Regions from separate parts of the Homo sapiens genome. Here region 1 is linked to region 2. Evidence: promoter capture Hi-C in 16 types of primary human blood cells and fetal thymus (Javierre and others, 2016). All regions are on one chromosome and are shown on one strand. The core of a region is centred on a gene start or on the middle of the fragment in contact, and the rest is flanking DNA. Distances in the headings are between cores, read along the strand shown. Region 1 has its middle 6.2 kb from the start of LINC01065. Region 2 holds the start of CNMD (chondromodulin).

The links. Contacts are between HindIII fragments. The CHiCAGO score rates a contact against its expected background, and 5 or more counts as called.
Region 1: a fragment that was not itself captured here is called in contact with the fragment with the promoter of CNMD in region 2 in 1 of 17 cell types (megakaryocytes); the score reaches 6.2 in megakaryocytes.

Annotation. Positions count from the first base shown.
Region 1 is chr13:53,154,731-53,161,390 of GRCh38, forward strand. No RefSeq gene overlaps it. Among named protein-coding and RNA genes, the nearest start is that of LINC01065, 6.2 kb to the left of the region's middle. The HindIII fragment of the contact is 1,802 bases long and covers 1,990-3,791 here.
Region 2 is chr13:52,736,853-52,743,357 of GRCh38, forward strand. CNMD (chondromodulin) reads right to left here and starts at 2,968. Exons shown (of 7, transcript NM_007015.3): 1 at 2,778-2,968; 2 at 2,179-2,319. The coding sequence starts at 2,849. RefSeq lists an enhancer at 538-1,039. The HindIII fragment of the contact is 4,345 bases long and covers 1,347-5,691 here.

The DNA of each region.
Region 1 (6,660 bases), core at 1,641-4,140, 420 kb after region 2:
AAATTTCGGTTATACTGGATCTCGTGGGAAAAAAAAATCAAAATCATGTTTAAAAGACATTCACCAAAGAAGGAAAGAAGGCAAACAGGGAGAATAACCTCCACGACCCCCCGCCCCCAACACACACACACAATTCCTCTCTGCCCTCTTTCCAGGAGTCTAATCAAATGTTCTGAAAAACCAACTAATGACCACCCCCTCTCCCAGGTTGTTTCTTTCTTTCTTTCTTCCACCTCAGGTGACAATAGTCAGAAATTTTTGGTTACTTTCCACCATTTTCTAATGAACCTGTTTGTTGTCTGGAAGAGGAAAGAGAACTAGATAATGGGCAGCTGGAAGATAGAGCTGGCTAGTCACAGGCTCTTATTCCTTTCCCTGTCTTATACATCTTTTTAAGGCTTGTATTGGTTTGCTAATGTTTCTGTAACAAAGTACCACAAACGAGGTGGCTTCAACAACAGAAATTTATTGTCTCACAGTTCTGGAGGCCAGCAGTCCAAGATCAAGGTGTTGGCAGGGTTGTTTTTTTCTTAAGACGTGAGGAAGAATCTGTTCCATGACTCTCCCCTAACTTCTGGTGGTTTGCTGGTAATCTTTGCTGTTTCTTGGCTTGTAGACACATCACCTTGATCTCTGCGTTGATGTTCACTTGCTGTTTTTTCTGTGTGTATGTCTGCCTCTGGATTTCCCCTTTTATCAGGACACCAGTCATGTCAGATTAAGGCAAACTCTAATAATCTCATTTCAACTTAATTACCTTTGTAAGACTCTTTCTCTAAATAAGGTCACATTCTGAAGTACTTGGGTTTAGGACTTCAACATGTAAATTTGTGGGGAACACAATTTGACCCATAACAGCCTAGAGTGAGGGTGCACGGAGAAATGAAAATGTGGGGAAAAAGAAAGCCTAACAGCTAGACTTTTCGCACTATGGCATATATAAACAGGACGTCGTTCTTCTCACTTTCATAAATTGTCATACCTATAAGGGTCTGAGCTAAGGCACCTTTTCATATCCATCTCAGATAAATTCCTATAGCACTTTACTTGTACCTATCTATGACACTCATAATTTTCTACCTTGTACTGCAGTTTATTATGTGCATAATTTATTTCTCTTATCAAACTATAAACTTCTTTAAAGCAGTATCTAATCCATCTTTGTTTCTATTTCTTGACCTAGTACAGTACCTTGAACATGATCGGTATTCAATAAATTATCATTGAATCCATAAATGGCTGTCCAGACTTTATAGGCCAGAGTTCAAAAAGTATATAAACTCACTGTTAAGCACTATATTGGTCAGGATAAGTTAGGTTGTACTGCAGGATCAAATTACTCCAAATTCTCAGTGATTTAATACAAAAAAGTTTATTTTTTGCTGAGGCAAAAATCTTGTAGAAGTCCAGGCAGTTCCTTAAACTGTTAGTCCTCCATGTGGAAGCAAAGTACCCTGGACAATTTCATCTTAGCATTAAGCAAGCCAGAAATGTGAAATGTCAATCTCAGGGACCTTTTCTTTTTCCCTAAAAAAAAAGTATCCTATATTACTGTTGTGTACAGTATTTACTGAGCCCTTAACTATGTACCAGGCAGTATTGTAGATGCTGGGATCCAACAGTGAAAAAGACACACTAGAGGATACATTCCTGTGTTGAACAAGGATTGAAAAAAGGAGTGGCCAAATAAATGAGATATTTGCATACAATTATAAATGCCATAAAGAAAGTAGAACAGGATAATATGGCACAAAATAACTTTCTTGTGATTTCAGTGCCAGTATGTTCTAAAAATCTTAGTCTTCTATTAGAAAATTAGTCATGGGAAAATAAATTCACACAAAATATTTAAGAAAAGAAAAAAATCTTAAAAATGGAAACACACACTCTATTTCAGTTATCTATTGCTGTAGAATAAACCACCCCAAAACTTAGTGGTTTAAAACAACAGTAATTGTATATTTGCTCAGAATTCTGTGATTTGGGTAAAGCTTGGTGGGAAAACCTCATCTGTGCTCCATATCTGTTGGGCTGGAATGTCCAGAATGTCTTTTTTATTCACATGACTATTGACTGAGTTGAATGTCTAAATTATGGAGACTATCTGAGCATCTCTATCTCCATGTGTCTACTCCAAATGGCTAGCTTGGGGTTCCTCACAGTATTGCAGCTGGGTTTCAAGACGGAGCATTCCAGGAAAATACGCTCAGGGCCCTATCAATCCTTTGCTTGCATCACACTTACTAATGTCCCATAGACTAAGGGTAGTCACATGGCCAACCCTAGAGTCAACCTGGCAGAGAACTACACAAGGGCATGATAAGAGAAATGGTTCATTGAGAGCTACCAAAATATCTGTTTATCACTGTCAACAATCTGGCCTCTAATAATTCTCATTCCTCCTGCAATACCCTCTGCTTTTGCTGAGACCCCCATAATCTCATTCTGTTACAGCATGAGATTTGGACTTGAAGTCTACAATCTCATCATCTAAATCAGGCCCAGGTGAAAGATGAGGCTTCTTAGGTATAATCACTTTTGATTTGAATACCAGTGAACTGAAGAGATGAAGAGATAAGTTATATTCTCCCTCATGCCCATAACCATCAACATATAATGGTGAAGCAAGGACTGAAAAATGGCAATAAAAGGTCCATTCAAAAAGGGGGAAATGTGAAAAATATAGCAGTCACCAATCTTAAGCAACCTGCAATCTAGCTGGGTACATATTTTCAGATCTTAGGGCCTAGTTCTGATATCTGGAAGTGATTCTCCATGGCTCATGCTTACAACTGAGTGGCTTTCAGTCTTCATCTTGCTCATAGAAGGTTGAGAGCACAAAGGCTTCTTTTTATTTTGAAATGCTTCTGTCTCTTTTAGTTCAATCTGGCAATGTTTGTGCTAGTACAATTCTCTTTAAAACTTTGTGGGTTTCTTAGGTATCTTATTAGGGGTTAACTTCATTAGACAAAAGTTATACCCACAAAGCTCTTTAAAACTGATCCCTTCCTAATTTTGCCTGCAAGTCAGGGTGCTATGGGATAATACCTTTACTATTTTTAGAAGATCTTTATTTCTTCTCTTTTCTTTCTTTTTTTTTGGTGAGAGAGTTTGAGGCAATTTGTGAGGATTCCTAGAAGCCCCTTTTTCTATCCAAGGGAATTTATGGGTCAGAGCCCTAAATCTTTTCTGAGATCTCACAAGCAGTATCCTTGATTTCATCTTTACTTTGAGTCCCTATTTTATTGGTATTGTTCTGGATTTGATATGAGGCAGATTTTACTTTGAGAATATTTTTCCAAGGAACACTGGGGATGAGAATTTATTTTTGAACCCCAAAGCCTTTGCATTTTCTTCAAATTCTGCTTGAAAACAGAATAGCTAATTCTTTAGTTCATCTTACACTTCCCATAACTTAACTTAGGCAACTAAAAGATGCAAGGTGCTACTTTAAACATCCCGTGTGGATATCTTCATAGCTGGATCCACAAGTTAATTAGGTATCTTTTCTATTTTGCACATTACTGTTGGTGATAGTTTTGCTAATGAATCTACACATCCATAACTTGGGTTTTCTTTTCTCCAGCTTCCAGAAAGCAATTTCCTCTCCGCTCTTTTAACTAACATTAAGTGTCTTCTTGAGATTTATCAGGTCTCCACCTATTGCACAATTCCAAATCCCACATGTCTTAGCTTTTTGTTGTAGGAGTACTCCACTTTGGGTATCAATTTCTAACTTCCAGTTTACTTCAGGGACTGTTTTACCAATTGTTCTGCCAGTACATGATTCAAGCTTTCTTTTCTCCAGTGTCTGATAGCTATTTTATCACTGCCCTTCCATTCTTCACTAATACAAAAACTCAAACAAAAATCTCTTTTAAATTATATCCTTAGGGGAATAAGTACACATTTAATTTGGTCCCCTATATCTTCTGGATCATCATTTTCAGCACTGTAAAGTCATAATTGCAGTTATTAAAATTTCTCAATTGCCTAAGATTCAGTTTTCTTAGAAAGATTGCAAACAATTGCCTGTCTTTCTTTCCCTTCCTTCCTCCCTGCCCTTCCTTCTTCTTCTTTCCTTTCTCCTTCCCTTCTTCCTTCCTCCTTCCTTCCTCCCTCCCTCCCTCCCTTCCTTCCTTTTCCTCCCTCCCTCCCTCTGTCCCTCCCTCTCTCTCTTCTCTCTTTCTCCCCTCCCTCCCTCCCACCTTCCTTCCTTCCTTCCTTCCTTCCTTCCTTCCTTCCTTCCTTCCTTCCTTTTATCCAGGTACATAGTATTTAGCTTTAGGGTGCAGAAGTAAATACATTTTTTTCTTGCATGATACTTACTGTCTAGTGAGAAACTTACTTGTCATTTATCCTAAAAAATATATTAACCAGAAGACCTATTTTGGTTATTGGATAACCCAAGGGAAAATTTCAAAGTAAACAAAACTTGTCTTTGGCTTACCTCACTTCACTTGTTGGCAAAAATTTCTCCACTTTTGGAAATCTAGTCACTGAGGTCTACTGTTTTTATGTTTTTCTTAGGAAGCCTTTGTCCTTTGCTTGATTTCTTCCAGAACGGGCCTCAGAATCTATCCATAGTTTTCCTGCTTTTCTTTACACAAATACATATATATCTCTACCTTCTTCTTTGATTTCCCCAGGGCCTTGGTCTTGACTAAATTTTCCCAAGCTTTTTTTTTTTCTTTTTTTCCCAGTAATGTGATATTGGGGCATCATTGCTTTCTCTGATAAAATGGTAACATTTAGACAGATACTTTTCTTTCTAGAGATGAAACATGTGAACCTAAAGAATGTCTAAAACTATGACTAGGCATGTGAGGAAGATATGTAGGGGTAAACTGGCCTTTCAGGCCTCCTTAAGTTGCCATGGCAACTCCATGTGGCTTCTGTCTCTCCTCCTGGGATTCTCCATGTGACCAGGCCCTTGTGCTGGAGTAGGCATGCTTTCAAGAGTGGATAGAACCAGTGGCTGTGCAATTAAATTTCTCCAATTTATTTTCAGGCCAAAGAGGTTTGCAATGTAGGTCTGGCTTTACACCCTTACTTAAGAAAACATCTTATGGCTCCTCAAGGATCCGAAGGAACCTAATTAGCCACATAGTAAAATCTGTACTTTGTGGCCACCAGAACTTTGACAGCAAGTGTAAGTAACTTTGTGACCAGCATTTGCTTTTCATATTTACTTGAAATAAATCTATGTTATCTCTTCTGTGTATTTAAGATCTGAAGAAAAAGATTTCTGACCCCACCTCTTGTTCACAAGACAGGGGGTATGACCCTCTGGCAGGGTTTTCAGCTCTTTACCCGCATTGGGTATTTTATTTTTTATTTTTTATTTTTTTTTTGAGACAGAGTCTCGCTCTGCCACCCAGGTGGGGGTGCAGAGGCAGGATCTCAGCTCACTGCAACTTCCGCCTCCTGGGTTCAAGCGATTCTCCTGTGTCAGCCTCCCCAGCAGCTGGGAGTACAGGTGTGCACCACCATGCCCAGCTAATTTTTTGTATTTTTAGTAGAGACTAGGTTTCACCATGTTGACCAGGATGGTCTTGATCTCTTGACCTCGTGATCTGCCCGCCTCGGTCTCCTAAAGTGCTGGGATTACAGGCATAAGCCACCACGCCCGGCCTGGGATTTTTATCTGTGAGGATTAAGTGAGGTGTCAGGACGCAAGGAAGACAGCTGGGCTGAGGGGGATGCCCCGGAGCCTGCTCCCAGGGAGGAGGTGGCCTGAAGGTGCTGCAGCCAGACTCTGCCTCTTGCTGCTTGTGGGACCTATTGGGTTTGGAAACAAATACATTTCTATAAATGTGGAATGTTCTCAAGTGAAGAGAAGAATGGGAAAACCTCACTTAATCTCTTCAATGATAGTTTCTTTGTTTTTTGTTGTTGTTTTGAGACAGACAGGGTCTTGCTCTCTTACCCAGGCTGGGGTGCAGTGGCACAATCACGGTTCACTACAACCTCGACGTCCTGTGCTAAAGCAATCTTCCTACCTCAGCCTTCTGAGTAGCTGGGACTACAGGCATGTGCCACCACACCTGGCTAATTTTTTAAAAAATTTATTTTTTGTAAAACCAAGGTCTCACTATGTTGCCCAGGCTGGTCTCAAACTCCTGGGCTCAAGCGATCCGGGTCCTGTTTTGGCCTCCCAAAGCGCGTGAATTACAGGAGTGAACCACCGCCCGCAGTCTTCAATGATAGTTTATCTTAAAATATAAAATGCAGATAGTAACATCTGCCCAGCCTTCCCAAAGATGAATTATATTTACAGTTCTGACCATCCTGGGGAAGAAGATGTTCATAATTTCTGAGAAAGTTTCTGCAAACCAAAACAAAAATATGTTCCTGTAGGGAAGAGCAGGTCTCTCTGACTTTCTGACTCAGCTTGAGTTCCCGTTGGTGGGCAAGTAAAATTGCTTTTCTGTGCTTCTTTGAGAGCAAGATGAAACCCAGACAGGGAGGGACATTCCTTTGTACATTTACTGCTACGTGGAAGAATTTTCTTTTTCTTTCTTATAGGAATAAAAATAGAATCTAAAAATGTTCCCTTTTTTTGGGTGTAGTTAGGTGTGAAACAGCTTAAAACCATCATTTAAATAGTTATGACAAAGCTACTTCTTTTTTTCAGGGAGAAAAGGTATAATCCTATTA
Region 2 (6,505 bases), core at 1,718-4,217:
AGTTATCTCATATTGGTGGAAATTTCCCATATTTCAATGCCTTGTTCCATTTACAATAATGTGGATGAAAAATGGCCTCAATATTGGAGCCCAGTTCAGTTGTCCCCTGATTATTATTACTCCAGTGCTTCATAGTCCTCCAGCTAAATTTCAGTAAACCTGTCCTAAGGGGATTTACCCACATGAAAAGGATAGGAGGTGAATTACAGCTGGTTCTCCTCTATAAACCAATATAGAGGAGCCGAGGCACAGATAATCCCCAAAGAGTGGATAATCCATTTGGTTTGACAAGTCTTTCTGTTTGACAAAGACTTACCTTTTTTGATTACGTTTTGTCTGAGCTATTTAGATTTGTATTCAGGCAAAGCAGACCTGTGCATGTGCTATGCCTAGGTGGTGCAAAAATTACTCTATTTAGTATTTTGTGATTTGTTTTTCATACTTAAGTCATATGGATCAGGGAGAAAAAAACTATCATGATTTTCTTCATTCTCCTGTCTGTATAGGATATAGCAATAATTTTGATTGTTGACAATAAAATGTGATTCACTATTCCTCTGAATTCTTAGCATTTAATACTGCTCTCCTGAACCAGACAACCAACCATCTTGCAGTAAAGTAAAATATATGAAAAAAGGGAGCTGTGCTTATTCAGTATGATTGTTTAATCTCTCTTTTTAGAAGCCTGTCAGTTAGTGATGTTTACCTTGAATAATTAAATGACAAATGGTATTCATTTTAAAATATATCATGTCCAGAATCTTTACCAAAAAAAAGCATAGCTATTGTTATCCCCCATTGACCTATACCATTGAGGCTTTGTTATTTAAAAGATAGCATTTACATTCTAAAACCACAGAATTTCCCAAAGAGATGACAATCTAAACCCTGCTATTAATGGAGATGTAGATATTGAAATCATTCTCTTATTCACATTTGCTGTTTCAAACATGAGCATCTGGCCCAGCTTCTATATTTAAAATACAAATACATTAAGGCACTTTTCAAATACCCACAAAATACAGTGCAATTCTGATCTTACAAATCGATGCTTGTAAATTTGATATAGTCTCTAAAACAGACTCGGTGCTAAATGGCATGCTTATCTACATTAGACATTTGAGTTAAAAATACAAATTATGCAGTGACTGCAGAAGACGTGATGTGTAAAATGGTTGAATTGCTTTCAGCACCATTTTCTGTAAGTACTGGAATTCGTTCATGCTTTGCATTTCATGGTAGGAGAGAGGAAAAAACAGCAATCACCAATCCTCTGAGGATAGTGATTATGAAAGAGCCCTTTGTGTGTGCCCTGGAGATGGAATTCTTTTCCATTAGTTGAAATAAGCTTATACCAGACCTGGCAGTGGTCATCAAGATAAAATGCCCCCTTTTACATAGGTGAACACTTTCAGAGTATTTAGAGAACACACTGGAGCTCTGCCCAGTCAACTTAGAAACAGTCTTTATACTCCTCGAGAGCCGTGGAGCTTTAAAATAAATAGTTGCATACAAAGAAAGTAGGACAGCAGTTAGTAAAACACCTACTATTAAACCACATGTGATGACTAGGCCAGAATTAATTGTTAAAGAGATTTTCCACCTTTAAGGAAGTTAGACGTTTTGTTTGTTTGTTTGTTTTTTGTTTTTGTTTTCCAGAGAGAGAAGGGAATGTTCATGGCTAGGTCACAAAAAAACCTTCTGAAAGGCAAAAATTCCTTCCCAATGGGTCTGAATATGGGTCTGAATATTCCTCCACTATCTTTGTCCTGGATTTTAAACCCACAGCCTTTCTTAGCAGGGACAGGCCTTAGAGATCGTCCAGTTCCATTTTTTCCCTTCAGGACGAGTACACTGAGGCCAAAAGGTGACGTGCCTTCCCCACGGTCGCGCCACTGCTTAGTGGGAGATGAGCCGAGAACGGCCTTTCTCGGACCGTCCACTACATTCTCCCCTACTCTACGCTTCAATCTTCTCCCGTGAAACCTTCACTTGCTTTTCTACAACGTTGACCTAAGGCGGAAAGCCGCGTGCCAGAGTGGGATGGGAGAGGGGAGCTCACGCTGGGCCCGAGGGGCCCGCCGGCAGCCGCGCGCCCCTCGCCGGCCCGCGCTCGGGCTCCCCCTAGGGGCACCATGGGCGACACGGGGGTCCCCGCGCGCCGCCCTCTGGACTTACGTGACTGTCGCTCCCCTTCCAGAAGTAGAAGGCCCCGATGGCCCCAAAGAGCAGCAGCACAGCTCCCGAAATGAGGACCACGGCTCCCACCTTGAGCAGCCGCGCGGGGCTGGAGGGCTTCACCGTCAGCGTAGCGTACGCCTGCGGGCCGGGGCGGGAGAGGGACCGTCGCGTTTGTGCCGCCAGCACCTGCGGCCCCCAGCGCACCCGGGCCCCACGCGGTAGCCCCCAGGGAGTGGGGAGTCGGGCGGGAAACAGCTCGCCCGGGCTCCTACGGGTGCCCCTTTCGCCGCGCTCCCTCCCGAGGGTCCTTTGCAGTCGGGCGTGGAAGTGGGATGAGCAAACCCCGCAGCACAGGGCCTTCGCCCCAGGACCTGCACCCTCTACCGGCCACGGGACGTCCCTCCGCACCCGCCTGTGGATGCCGTGACCCCTGCACACTCATACGCGTGGGGCGACATCCCACCCACACATTTGGGACCCAAATTTATCCCCCCGCCAACACACCCATTCGGTGGCACGCACCCCTGAGTCCGAACTGTGGAACCTGATACTCACACAACCCAGGCCCTGCGTGTGGAATCCCTGGCGGTACTCACCGGGGGGCTGCAGAATTCCACGTCATCAGGTCCCACCAGGGCAATGGGAACTTTGTCGGAGTTCTCTGTCATGTTTGCGGCGGGAGGAGTGAGGCACTTGGAGACTCCCTGGGCACCCTGGGATCTGTCCCGCTGCCCCGACGTGCAGGGCATTTCAACGCCGCGCGCACACACGGTGCACGGTCCCGCCTGGGCCAGCCCAGCGGTCCCCACCCCTTCCAGCGCCTCACCTCTCTCCTCCCTTCTCTCTCCCGCCGCGGGAAGCTCGTCCTGCACTCCCGGATGCCCCCTTTCCTCCTCACTCTATCCTGTCTACTGGCCCCCCAAACAGCATCCCGGTGACTCTGAATGTGTGGGGGTGGTTGCATCCCTCAGAGCGGGATGCTGAATCCTGGGACCCAAAGAAATACTCAAGTGCCAGAGCAATTAGCCATGCACCGGAGGATGTCTTAGAATGTCAGCGGGCTCTGCTGTGACAACTGGCTGGAGGCCATTTCCTGCAGGGTCTTTGTAGGTGTGTGTTGGGGTGGGGGTGGGGGGAAGATGGCTCATGGAAGGTGAAGGAGAAGACAACAGAGTGGTGCAGGTGGACAGGGGACACTGGCCTAAGAGTGTAAGGGTTAGGCCACCTTCTCACTGGCCTGGCATTGCTGGATGGCCCCTGGGACTGGAAAACAGAGCAGGGTCTTAGGGATGGCTCCTTGCCACCAGTTTTTCTAGGGTCTGGGTACAACTGCAGCAAAAGTGAGAGCTAAGCAGAGCAGGGCTGGAGGGAAGGAGTTGGGGAGACCAGAATAAAAGTGCATGCTGGTTGGTTGAATAAATTAAATAAGTGCAAACAAAAGCAACAATGGCAAAGCACACACACACACACACACACACACACAGAGTACTGATGTATCCAAAGGAATAACACAAATGTGTGTGTGTGTGTGTGTGTGTGTGTGTATGTATGTATGTATATAAAATTTTCACTTTTGGAAATGCCATCTTCCAGTTCCAGGATACATGGTACTTCATTTGGATCCAGGCTTCCTTAAATTGCGTTCGATTCTAGCTTTGTGCAGAGCTCTCTGGTGAGGTGTAAGTGAGGAGCACTAGTGCATGAGAGGGATTGAGGCTTCCCCAAAGGGCAGCGGGAGATTGCATGTGCAGGACTGCAGAAGGAGAAAGTGTTGAAGAATCATCCAAGACATGTGATGAAGAATGAGGTGACAAGCATGATGACCTGGGGCTGGGAAGGAGGGGAGAAGTGGAGGAGACCACTTTCACAGAAGAATCGATAGGACTTGGCAATTCCTGGGCTGTGGGAACTGAGTTTTCAGACCTAGGAGGATTGGGAGAGTGATAGGAACCCTAGGGAAGTGAAAAAATTGGAAGAAACAGTTTTAGACATGTTGAGCTTGATGTGGGGATGAAAAGTAAAAGAGCCAAGGAAATGTCCTGAGCCTGCATTGGAATCAGCTATGGAAACAGCTGTCTGCACATCACACTAGACTTAAGGTGCTTGGAAAAAACTCCAGCAAGATCTCCAGCCAGGGCTCATCCCTGGGGCACTGCTGAGGCAGAGTTCAAAGACCTCTTTTCACAAGGGCATTCTTCACAGGAATTTTGGTGAAGGAATAAGAGAAGTAACTGTCAGAGAGGTGGGAGATGGTACAATATAAAGTAGTACATGTAATTTTAAAGGCACATTCAAGAAGGGTGGGTCAGCAGTGTCAAATGCTGAAAAAAAATGAGCACAGAGAAAGGCCTTGGAAGGGCACAACCAAGAGGCCATGGGAACCAGCGAGAGAGTAGTTCCATTTGCTTCCCTGGGCACAGAAGACACATTGCAAAGGGTTACAGAGTGATTAAAAATATTTGCAACTTATACCACAGACAAGGAACTAGTTTTCTTATATAGTGTTTTCCTAGGAAAACCAAAAGACCAAAAATGTAGTAGAAAAAATGGCAAAGAATGGAAACAGAGAGTTGGTGAAGCAAGAAGTAGAAATTTCTCTTAAATGTAAGAAGAATGAACAACAGCATTATTTTGCCTTTTTTTTTTTTTTTTTTTTTTTTTTTTTGAGACAGAGTCTTGCTCTATCGCCCAGGCTGGAGTGCAGTGGTGCGATTTTGGCTCACTGCAACCTCCACCTCCCAGGTTCAAGTGGTTCTCCTGCCTCAGCCTCCCAAGTGGCTGGTATTACAGGCGCCAGCCACCATGCCTGACTAATTTTTCTATTTTTAATAGAGGCAGGGTTTCACCACGTTCGCCAGGCTGGTCTCGAACTCCTGACATCAAGTGATCCGCCCACCTTGACCTTCCAAAATGCTGGGATTACAGGCATGAGCCACCACGCCTGGCCACAACTGCATTCATACAAGGAAATGCAAATTAAAAGTAGACTGGTTCACCTATGAGACTGGAAAAACATAAAAACGCTTGTTAAAACAATCTGTTGAAAAATATGAGGGGCAGTGAATTTATGGACTACTGTAGTGGGTGAATTGGTACAACTTCTATGGAGAACAATTTAATTCCAAAATGCAAAATGCAGTTTCATTTCTATGGATTTATCCTACAGATGCACTCACAAGGGTGGAAAAATCCTGCAGGTGCAACGATGCTCACTGCAGCATGTTTGTTAGAACAAAGCACTAGTAATATACTCAATGTCCAGAGTAGACAATTTATGATCCATTCTCACCGTGGGGGTTTGGCAGCCCTTTAAAAGAATGAGGCAGCTTTGGATGTAGTGATGTAGATAGAACACTCTCTAAGATACTTCAAGTGAAAAAAGCAAAAGGTAGAAAATGCGTAGAAATGCTTCCATTTGTATAAAGAAATACAAACAAGAATAAATGTAAGTATATGCTTTCTGGAAAGATAAGATGCTGGTAGTGGGGGTTGCCTCTGAGGAAAATGTGAAGCTTGGGGAGACCAGTAGAAAGAAGATGCTTAACTGTGAACCTTCTGAAATGTTTTGAATTCTATATTGTGAACACGCATTAGCTATTCAGGAATTGAGTGAATAAAGCACTAAATAACAGTGAGTAGGTGGGGAGGAAGTGAATGCTACAAATGGAGACAATTCTTTTAACAACTTTCAACTTGAGGGGAAGAAGGATGAATGTAAGGAAGTTTTAGATGAGGGGAGTTAGAGGATCAAGGAAGGTACCACCTTCCCTTGATGAACCTTGAGAAGGAGAGAAGGACTGGAGGGAGTGAGTGGTGAGTGGATACTTTGGGGCCAAACAGACATTGAAGAGAGGGTGAGGAATCAGGGGAAATGCAAGACCTTGCCTCATTCATACATTTTTAACACATAATATACAGAAAGTAGCTGACCAGGGCGTGAGGGGTGAGGAGTGGGTATGGAGATCAGTTGCCTCCTCTGAGCACATTCTCCTAAAGTGGCATATTTTCAACAATTTTAAGGTAGTGTGTTCACATGATGATGGTTATAGATAATGAAAAGGCAGTAGAAAAAGCAGTAAGGGAGCAAGACTGGGAGGCTCATTGCTGTGGTTTGAATGTGTTTCTCAAAATTCATGTGCTGGAAACTGAATTCCCAATGCAAGTGTTGAGAGGTGGACCTTTAAGAGATGATTAGGTCATGAGGGTTCTGCCTTTGTGAAAGGATCAATGCCACTGTTGCAGGAGTGGGGTAGTTATCATGAGAGTGGGTTCCTGATAAAAGGATGAGTTTGGCTCCCTTTCCCTTTCTCACATGGGCATGTGT